Regions from separate parts of the Homo sapiens genome. Here regions 2 and 3 are each linked to region 1. The links are contacts of gene promoters, found by promoter capture Hi-C in blood cells and fetal thymus (Javierre and others, 2016). All regions are on one chromosome and are shown on one strand. The core of a region is centred on a gene start or on the middle of the fragment in contact, and the rest is flanking DNA. Distances in the headings are between cores, read along the strand shown. Region 1 holds the start of GALNT16 (polypeptide N-acetylgalactosaminyltransferase 16). Region 2 overlaps RAD51B (RAD51 paralog B). Region 3 overlaps RAD51B (RAD51 paralog B).

Region 1 (3,491 bases), core at 516-3,015:
GGCCCTCTTTGTGCATTCTCTTCTTTCTAGGTCCCATTCCTGCGTGGGTCACTTTTGGACTTGTCTAAGTGTCATCGTAATTAGTCTTCTGAGTGAGGATATCGTATTGCAGTAATGACCCTGGGTTTTCCTCAGCAAAAACCCAACTAGGGTTTCTTCACCTCAACAGAAATGTATTGAGCATCTATTATATGTGCGGTTCAGTCTCGAGTGCTGGAGAAATGGAGAAAAGCCACCTGATTTTACTTCTATCTGTCAGGGTGGTGCTCATGGGATGCTTGTGGGGGGGCATGATGCTGTGACTTCAGTTTGCCTGATTCCCCAGATGGCTTCATTTAGAGGCTGGACCCTATGTGGGTCTTCGGAGTAGCCATGGTGTCCAGCAGTGCCAGCAGGAAGCAGACTCCTCAACAACTCTGCCCCGGCATTCAAGGACCTCCTGAGTTCAGACTCACCCAGCCTGGCCAACCTCAACTCCTATCAAATCCTAGGCCCCCTGCAACGCCTGGCAGCTCTCTCTCTTGAACACATCAAGCTCTTCCATCCTCTGGATTTTTGCAAGGCCTATTTCTGCAGTCTCTCCCCTGTCCTCACCTCCCCCTTCCTTACCTCTTAAGTGATTCATCCACCTTTCTGAGAGCTTTCCCAAAGGCCACCTTACAATAAATTATTTCTTCCTCTGTTGGATCCCTACTTTGTTGTTACACATCTATTCATTGAGCGCTCTGTGCCCGACACTGTGCTGGTTTCCTAAAACTCATCCAAGCCTCTTGCTTTCTGCCTGGAGTGAAGAGTAGTTCACGTTCTGATTCTCAGTGCCTCTAGGGCTGGAGCGGAATCTTAATGTCTGTGTCCTCGTCTCTCACCACCGCGTTTTGCACTTTGTCGAAAGGTGTCAGATGGTGAGATGGCTTCTAGACTGGGCTCTGCCCACTAATTAGCTGTGTGGCCTTGGGAGAATCATCCGGCCTCTCTTGCTGCCCTTCTTTCCGATGAAATAATGCTGACGATGATATTTCAGGGTTGTCCAGGGGTCAATGAGGCGGGATAGAGGGAAGCATCGTGAAATCTGGGAGCCCCAGGCCAGCGAAAAATGTGGAAGGGCCGTACCCGCACTCTCCTAGCACTGGGTGTGAGGCAGCGTCGTTTCCCCTTCGCGCTCTTCGAATGTCAAGTGCACCAGCTTCCAATCCCTCCTCTGGGCGGGCCCGGTCTGGCTAATCTCAGCTGCAGATTCCAGTACAAACTCAGGACTCTCCCCCGCCCAGCCGCCCCTACACAAGGACTCGCCGAACACACCTTGAATCCCGCGCCAGAGCGCAGCCCGGAACTGCAGCTCGCGGCGCGGGCCCAGGTCGGGGGTCGCGCGTCTCCAGTCGGTGACTCAAGGCCGCTCGGTCCGGGGGTGGGTGTGGGTCGGCAGGACCGACCAGGGCCGCGCGGGGGCAGCTGCCGGGCGTTCGGTCACCTAGCGGTGGGAGCCGAGGCTGGCTTTGGCCAGTCGCCATTCCGCCGCGGGCGTCTGTCTCGCCGGGTTCCCGGGCGCGGGAGGAAGGCCCGCGCCGCTTCCCACTCGGCGCGCTTCTCTCCCAGTGCGCAGTGGCCTGGTGGGTCAGCCGGCGGCGGCTGGAGCGCGGGGCCGGCCCTGCGCACGAATGAATGGGCGCCCGGGGGACGCGCGCGCTCGGGGCTGAAGGGCATTAGGACCGTGAGGATCGCTCCGCGATCCTGTCTCTCCCTATCACCCCCCCGCCCCCCCACCTCTCTCCTTTTTCTGCTCTGCAGGACTGAGCAGCTAGGCGCGAGCGAAAACAAACAGCTGGGGCTGCGAGCGCCCCCGCCCCGGCCCCGAGAGCACGCCGGCCCAGTCCCCCACCTGGGGCGCCCGTCTGCCCACCATGAGGAAGATCCGCGCCAATGCCATCGCCATCCTGACCGTAGCCTGGATCCTGGGCACTTTCTACTACTTATGGCAGGACAACCGAGCCCACGCAGCATCCTCCGGCGGCCGGGGCGCGCAGAGGGCAGGCAGGAGGTCGGAGCAGCTCCGCGAGGACCGCACCATCCCGCTCATTGTGAGTACGCCCCGAGCGTCGGCCGGCCGGCTAGGGAGCCGCGGCGCGCGTCCAGACCCTGCGCGGCGGCCGAGGGCGCGGGGCCCGGCCAGGGCTGAGTGCCCGCTGCGCCGGGCCGGCTTTGTATATGTTGGAGCATTCCTGCCCGTTGTTATGGCAACCTCTGCCGGGCGGCGGGGCTGGGGCGCACCGACTAAGGGAGGGTGACAGAGGGTGGGGGCTGGGAGAAAGTGCTGCAAGTTTGGTGGGCCCGGCGTGCGCGCGCGGCTGGGAACGTGGCGGCTCTCCCGGCTCTGCGCTGCCGGGGCCGGGAGTCTGGGGGCTGCGGGAGCCTCGTGTGCCCCGGAAGGCTGCCGGGCCCAGCGCGCGGCGAGCGGGCGGTGGGAACCACTCGCAGCCGAGCGCGTAGGTGGCAGTGCGCAGCCCCTCTCCAGCCTTCTGGGGGCAGAGGACATCGGGTGGGGGCGTGGGTAGGGGAAGGCTCTCTAGGCGCTGCGCCTGGCTTCGAACCCCCTTCTGAGCCGGGTCAACTTGAACCCGCTTCTTCGGCGCGGACACCCAGCTTCCCCGGAGTTCTCTGGGTTGAGGAGAGGTCTCGCACTGTACGCGTCTCTCACTCCCAACCTTAGGGTCCGCCACCACGGGTAGGTGGGCAGTGTCAGCGCCCGAACTTGGCGATACCCTTGCATGAAGTCAGCCTCGCGACATCTAAGCGGGCAGGGAAACAAAGGCAGTGTGGCACAGCGGGGGCGGCGGCGGGGCTGCGGGGGCCCTTGGCGCTCTGGGGACCCGGGCGGGGGCGTGCGGAGCCGCAGCCGCCCTGCAGGGGGCGATCCTGTCGCCGTCTCCGTCCGAGCCCCAGGTGACAGAGCTGTGCGTGGCCAGGCAGGGGCACCTGTTGAGGCGGGAGGCTTTGGCACCCGCCGAGAGTGCGCTCGAGCGGGCGCATTCTTCCAGACGGGGGCGGTTGGTGGACGAGAGCCTCGGACGACCCTCGGGAACTACCAGGGCGGGGCAGCCTGGCCGGATGAGGACCAGGAAGAGGAGAGCCGAGTGGGGCGGGGGTAAAGGAGTGAGGAAGCGTGGCGATTCCGACAAGGAAAGATCTGGGCCTGGGGGTGGAGGGGTGAGGAGATCCGCGGGGGAGGTGCAAGGTCCGGAGGGCTGAGGCTTGTGTGGAGCCGAATCCGAGAAACGCATCCAGACGCGGATCTGAACCCCAGGAATATCGGGAAGTTCATTGGAGAGTGTCCCCTCATATTCCCATCCTGCCCCAGATTCCGAGTCCCCTGCAAAGGAAACATTATTTCAGGGCTTTGCCTGAGGAGACCTGGGGCGGGGGGGTGAGGTTGTGGGTTTTGTCCTAGATACCAGTCTGGGTGAACTCTCTGGGGGCAAGCCTGATTAGGTGCACTG
Region 2 (3,491 bases), core at 700-3,199, 1.4 Mb before region 1:
CGCCGGGCTTGAGTGCAGTGGTGTGATCTTGGTTCACTATAACCTCCACTTCCTGGGTTCAAGCGATTCTCCTTACTCAGCCTCCCGAATAGTTGCAATTACAGGTGCCCACCAGTGCGCCTGCCACCATGCCTGGCTAATTTTTGAATTTTTAAATTAAAGACGGGGTTTCGCCATGTTGGCCAGGCTGGTCTCGAACTCCTGACCTCAAGTGATCTGTTCATCTCAGCCTCCCAAAGTCCTGGGATTACAGGCGTGAGCCACTGTGCCTGGCCATTACATGTTAGCATATTGTACCAAACAGGGCTCCATTAGGAAAATAGAACCAGTAGAACATATATTAAGAGAGTTATTGCAAAGAATTGGCATATGCAGATGTGGAGTTGTCTGAAATCCATAGGGCAGGCTGTTGGAAAGGGCAGGCTAGAACTCTCAGGCAAGGGCCTAAGCTGTAGTCCATAGGTGGAATTTCATCTTTTTAAAGGAAGTCTCAGCTCTGCTGTTAAGGCTTTTCAAGTGATTGAATTAGCCCACCCAGATTATGTAGGATAATCTCTAGTACTTAAAGTCATCTGTTTATGGACATTAATGACATCTACAAAATCCTTTCATAACAATGCATAGATTAGTGTTTGATTGAATAACAGGAGACTGTGGACTAGCCAAGTTGACACAAAACTGACTGTCATATATTTTTTGTTTGTTTTTTGTTTTTTTTTTAAGAGACAGGGCCTCGCTCTGTCACCCAGGCTGGAGTGCAGTGACATGATCATAGTTCACTGTAACCTCCAGCTCCCGGACTTAAGAGAGCCTCCTGCCTCAGCCTCCTGAGTAGCTGGGACTACAGATGTGAGCCACTGCACCTGGACTTTACATGTATTTTTTATGGAAAATAAATACATTTTTGACTAAAAAAAGTGAAAAAAGAGTGGCGTTGTTTTATGTTTTTGCAAATCTCTTTAGTGTCTGACTTAATAGAAGACAGCCTGATTCTAATATCTGCTTCTGCATTCAGTCTGTTGCACTCTGTTGTTTTGGTTGAGATATGAAGATCTGGCCTTATACTGGTTATAGTTGGAAAGGGAGGAATATTTTAATAGTCTCTTCAGATAATTAAAGATATGCTTCTTTGATACTACACCAGGAATTGAGTAATAGTTGCTTAGAGGTTAGTTGTGATATAGAATCTGAAACCATATTATTGCATTTTTTCTACAGTTACATTAAAATCTATTCATCTGTCTTAGGCTCTTAATGGATATTTACCTATGCATGATTTTGTAATATTATGCATTTATCACTCAGAAAATATTGGTTCACTGTCTTATGGAGTTCTAAATGTTGACACATTTTATTACTCAATATAAAAAAATTTCATTAGTATCTCCACTGATCTGAACAAAAAGTATTTAAGTATTGGGATGCAGTCAAACTCATGGTAGCAGATGTAAGTTTTTTAGGAATCTGATTTTTCATTAAAAGCTTGAATTTTATCATTGGCAATAAATATTGCCACTTGTTTTTCTTGAAGTGTCGGGCTTACTTTGCTCATTTTGAGAAAACGTCTACCAAATACTTAAGTCAGAAAAACCATAACTTATCTATCAATCATTCTTTCAAGTAAAAATGGTCTCCCATGGAAAAAGTGACTTCTTAGTCTGAGAACCCAATTGTACAGATGTTTTTCCTTGAGACAATGGTTGTACTTCAGAATGTAGTAGAAGTGCTTCTATTTTGTCAAACAGAATATTAAAAATATGTCTGTGTTCTAATAAAACTCTATTGACAAAAACAGGCAATGGGCCATAGTGCACAGTTTGACAACCCCTGCTTTATTTAACTCCTTGAGCAAATGTAGAAGATTAATAATAGCCGTTTTGAGGTTTTTATCCATGAATGCCATCATATATATAATTTTTTAAATCTGTTTTTATTGACTGATTTTTCTCCTGGTAATGGATCTTTTCCTCTTCCTTTACTTGTCTGGTAATTTTTCAATTCGATGTTAAACATTGTAAATTTTACGTTGTTGGTGGGTGCTGGATTTTAACATATGTTTTTCAAGAGTGTTAGGTTTTGTTTTAAGGTACATTTTAGTATTAGTTTGATCCTTTTGCAGGTTGCTTTTCTATGTTGTTATGGAAAAATCCCAGGTACAGTCATGCTTCGCTTAACAATTGGGATATGTTCTGAGAAATGCATTGTTAGGCAATTTCATTGTTGTATGAACACCCTACAGTGTACTTACATGCACCTAGATGGTATAGCCTACTGCGCACCTAGACTATATGGTATAGCCTATTGCTTCTAGGCTATGAACCTGTACAGCATGTTACTGTATTGAATAGGCAATTACAACACAATGGTAAGTATTTGTGTATCTAAACAAAGGAAAGGTATTGTAAAAATATACTATATAAGCTTATGGGACCACTGTTGTATAAGTGATGCATCATTGACTGAAATGTCGTTATGCAGCACATGACTGTGGTTTTTTATTCTGAAACTTATTTAGCTTCACTACTAAGGTAAAATCCTTCTGAAAATTCTGCCCAATGCCCAGTGTATAATAAGGTCTCTTTATTCTTCACCTTGTGTAAACCCGAACTGTTCTCACCCTGTGTGGGCACTAGGAAGTGTTCAGTCTGATACTTTCTGGTGGTTCTTTCCTCAACCTCAAGTAGTTTCCCTTCACACATGTGCAGATTAGTTCTCAAGTGGCCCTCTCTGCAGATCTTTGCAGTGCTCACTCTGCACACCTGCTTCCTCTCTGGTACTCTGCCCCATAAGTTCTAGCCACCTTAGCTTTCCCAAACTCCGATCCCCATCTCCTCAACTCAGGTTGTCTACCAGGCTCTGTTTACTTTCCCTTTCTTGTGTTGCAGCCTGGAAACTGCCTCTGGAGCAAACTGAGGTGATTGTAAGCTCATTGTGTTTGTTTCCTTTCTCTCAAGGATTACAGTCTCAAGCTTTCTATTGTTCAGTACCTGAAAACTCTTATTTCATGTATTCTGTCTGATTTTCTACTTATTATTTTAGTGCAATTCATGTACCAGTTAATCCTTTGTGGGCTAAAGTGGAAATCCCTTCTTTCATTCTCTCTTGAGTTCACTCTATCCAGGCTTAAGTTTCCAGCTCTATAATGCAACTGATTTAAAAAATTTTATCCAACCCAATAGCAGCATTCGAAAGAGTTGATCACTCACTTTTTCTTGAAAAGCTCTCTTCCCTTGACTTTTTATTTTTTTAGACAGGTTCTCACCTAACTCTGTCACCCAGGCTGGAGTACAGTGGTGCTATCATGGTTCACTGCAGCTTTGACCCCTCAGACTCAAGCAATCCTCTCACCTCAGCCTCTCGAGTAGCTGGGACCACAGGCATATGCCACCATGCCCAGCTAATTTTTTAATTTTTAGTACAGATAAGGTTTTGGTATGTTGCCCTGGTTGGTCTTAAACTTCTGGGCTCAAGAGATCCTCCTGCCTTGGCCT
Region 3 (3,491 bases), core at 437-2,936, 1.2 Mb before region 1:
CACTCTTCTCAAACATCTTACATGTCATTTCTATCTTGATCCTCAGCAAATAACTATTTCCAAGTCAATGGTAAGAATAGAAATCTGAGATGGAAAATTTCTTCCTCATTTACCATCAAAACTACAAATATTCTCCCATGATTATTTTCCTCTGTTGCTTCTGCTCTGAATGATATGACTTTTTTTCTTTTCCTAAAACCCTAGGTTCCATCCACATTCACCTTAGAAGGATTTTGATTTTTCTCTGATTCTATCTTTCTCCCAAATTCTGTATGTAGCCTAGTGATTATGAGCATGGACTTTACAATCAGGCTTTGTGTCTGATTTGACTCAAATTTGTGTCTGTTACTATGAAATCTTGGGCAAATTATGTATCTCTCAGCCTCAGTTTTCTTGTGTGTTGAAGATAATAATACCTAGGTCATGGAGTTGTCGTGAAGATCAAAAGTGATATCTTTAAAGTGCTAAGCATAGCAGGTACACAGTAAGCATGCAAAATAAAGGTCCTTGCATTATTTTTACCTCCCTTTCTAGTGGCTCCTAACCTTATTAAGAGTCTCTTGTCTTAAGAAATTGTTCTACTACTTCAGTATTTAGCACTCTCTCTCTCTCTTCACCATCACAGCTATTCTCCACTTTTTATCTCCTATTTATTTTGGCTCTCACATCAGCCTGGCTTCCCAAGCATTTCAAATTTTATTTTTAATCTTATTTCTTTTCCACCCCTTTCTCTCCAAATTTGCTCTGCTTCCAATAAGTTCATCTATCATGGCTCAAATCAGAAAAATAGCAGATGCCCTTGTTCTTTTGCCCTCTCTACATTTAATCATCAAACAGAGTTCTGATAATTCTGCTGCCTAAATAGTTCCTAAATTTTTCTACATCTCTTCTTTGGGTGCTACCATTTCAGTCCAAGGCACTATCATCTCACACAGTATTGTGACAATAGCCTTCTACTATTCTCCCCTTTGCCACACTATTCCATACTCCACACTATAGATAGAGTGATAACAAGAAATGTTATTTCCCTTTATAAACATTCTAATGAGTTTTCTTGCTCTTAGGGCAGAGCTCTTCTTGATCAGGTCTTATTTATCTCTTCTTTCAGCTCTATCTTATACCACTATTACCCTGTGCATGCCCTAGCTCTGATGAGTTTCTTTCAGTTTCATTCAGATCTCTTATTTCAGCTTTTCCACATAGTGTTCCTCTGCTGCCTTCCTGATCCTTCTTGGGGATCATTGCTACTTGGCCTCTGGTTTCAACCTAAACTTTACTTCCTTGAGTGACCTTCGCTTAGGCTAGGTACTTCTGTGGTCTGTTCTTTATTACCGTATCATCATGGTGCTCATGACATTTTACAGTTCCTTATCTCCCCCCAAGATTCCAGAAGGCAGGAGCCATGTCTTTTTCATTCTCTACCACAATGCCTGGCCTATAGTAGACACCCATTAAAATTTTGTTAAATGTTGTTAAATAATTAAAGCAAGAGAAAAATCATCCTATATAACATGTTAGGGTTTAGAACTACATATGGTATTCCTGTATTTAACTTTGAATATTTCTTTAAACATAAGTAAATGTGGAAAATAATAATGCTGCTTTTCAGCACATGCTCTTATTTTTCTATCTTCACACATTCCCTAATTTTAAAATCTCTTTATGTTTGTTTTTATTCCAGACTACAAACATCAAATCTTTTTTTTTTCTATTTGGATGCTTTTAAGTATAAAGTGTCACTTAATATCAGCACTTCTGCCAACTCTTATTCATTTTTCCAGCTGTATTTGGACAACATTTACATAGATAATTTTGTGAAATTTTCAACTAGAAGTTGAGTTGAGATAAATCATGCAGTTTTCAATTCAGTGTATCCTGAAAGATAACGAAACTCACTGAGCTGCCTGGTTTTCCAACAAGCTACATAGAAAGCATGAGGAGGGCAGAAGGCTATGGCTTCCACTGTTTTGACCACTTCACAGCCCTTCCCGCAGACTGCTTGGAGATGGCTCAAGTGGAACCTGTTGATAAATTAATGATCCTCTTTTTCCCAGTCACCATTGAGCCAAAGTAGGCTATGGGGCTGAATCATCCCAGACAGGGATGAATGAATGTTCTGAAAAGCTGAAACATAAACTGTCAGTTAAGATGCATTTTCTTCAAGTTTATTTGTGACAGATGATGGAAGGTAGTTGATATTGACTGAGTTTGATTGTTTCTTAGGAACAATCACAGTCATTTGATTGTTGTTCCTAAGAAAGTAGTCTTTTTAAAAAAACAAAATCTGAGATACAAATGAATCACTATATGTTAATTTTCCTTGCCCTTCTTAGGTGACCACTGACTATATTTTACCAGTTGTTAATGTAGCTTTGGGGGGGATTTTGTTCATTTTTTTGGTGCACCTTGGATAAAAAATAATTGGAAATATTTCTCATTTTGCAATTACTGACTTTTCATACTACTGGAATACAGGATTTGTCAGAGTTCTTATCTGACCCAGAATAGATTAGACACGTTTTAAGATCAGTAAGAATCATCTGCTTTTTTTTTTTTTGGTGGTGGGGTGGGAACATGGTCTTGCTCTATTACCCAGGTTGGAGTGCAGTGGTACACTCACAGCTTACTGCAGCCTCTACCTCCTGGGCTCAAGCAATCCTCCTACTTCAGGCTCCTGAGTAGCTGGGACTACAGGTGCTTGCCACCATGCCCAGTTAATTTTGTATTTTGTGGAGTCAGAGTCTCACTGTGTTTCCAAGGCTGGTCTCGAACTCTTGGGCTCAAGTGATCCTCATGCCTTGGCCTCCCAAAGTACAAGTATTGCAAATGTGAGCCATTGTGCCCAGCCTATTTGTCTTCTTAAGCCTACAATAAGAATGTTGAAAAGATAGTTTATTTATATAACCCCATTTGATACAAAATTCACATCAAATAGAGTTAATTAAATAATGGATGTCCCTTGTTCATCATTTCAGGCAGATACAAATACCACTTTTAGCAAAAAAGGTAAATCTCTTGTTTTAAGTTACCCAGACGAAGATTATATAGAAAGTTAGGGTAATGACATTCCCAAGGCAAAAGTTCTTCAGGGAAAAATAGTAAGCCATTTCAGTTTCTCAATTTCTGGAGGGCTTATCTGAAGGGATTGGGATGTCTAATATTGCAAATTAGGCAAATTGTGCACATTTATCACCATGCACCTTGGATTTCAAGCAGAAATAAGAGGAGGATTTGACTGAAGGGAATTAACTTTGGTCTTCCAAACTTAAATATATACCAGATGTGTACTGTGGAAGGATCTTCCTGGTTACAGTATAACCTCTGGTTCTTTTGGACTCTTGCTAACTTAATTTACCCAGTTCTTTTCCCGTATAGAAATTAGACTGTGGATTGTTTCTGTGGATTATACTCATGGATTTCTGTGGATTATACTCATGGATTTTATTGTTTTATCTTATTTACAGATTCTGACTTTTTTCTTTTCTTTCTCT

The links. Contacts are between HindIII fragments. The CHiCAGO score rates a contact against its expected background, and 5 or more counts as called.
Region 2: a contact is called between a fragment that was not itself captured here and the fragment with the promoter of GALNT16 in region 1, in 1 of 17 cell types (non-activated CD4 T cells). The highest score is 5.1, in non-activated CD4 T cells.
Region 3: a fragment that was not itself captured here is called in contact with the fragment with the promoter of GALNT16 in region 1 in 1 of 17 cell types (neutrophils); the score reaches 6.1 in neutrophils.

What each region holds. Positions count from the first base shown.
Region 1 is chr14:69,258,393-69,261,883 of GRCh38, forward strand. GALNT16 (polypeptide N-acetylgalactosaminyltransferase 16) reads left to right here and starts at 1,766. Exons shown (of 15, transcript NM_001168368.2): 1 at 1,766-2,075. The coding sequence starts at 1,899. It overlaps GALNT16-AS1 (GALNT16 and EXD2 antisense RNA 1), which reads right to left and starts at 2,135. Exons shown (of 4, transcript NR_184249.1): 1 at 1,898-2,135. RefSeq lists a silencer at 2,812-2,871. The HindIII fragment of the contact is 12,811 bases long and covers 1-3,491 here.
Region 2 is chr14:67,878,739-67,882,229 of GRCh38, forward strand. All of the region lies in intron 5 of RAD51B (RAD51 paralog B), which reads left to right. Among named protein-coding and RNA genes, the nearest start is that of RAD51B, 61 kb to the left of the region's middle. The HindIII fragment of the contact is 939 bases long and covers 1,481-2,419 here.
Region 3 is chr14:68,031,721-68,035,211 of GRCh38, forward strand. The region is part of intron 7 of RAD51B (RAD51 paralog B); the gene reads left to right. Among named protein-coding and RNA genes, the nearest start is that of RAD51B, 210 kb to the left of the region's middle. The HindIII fragment of the contact is 5,207 bases long and covers 1-3,491 here.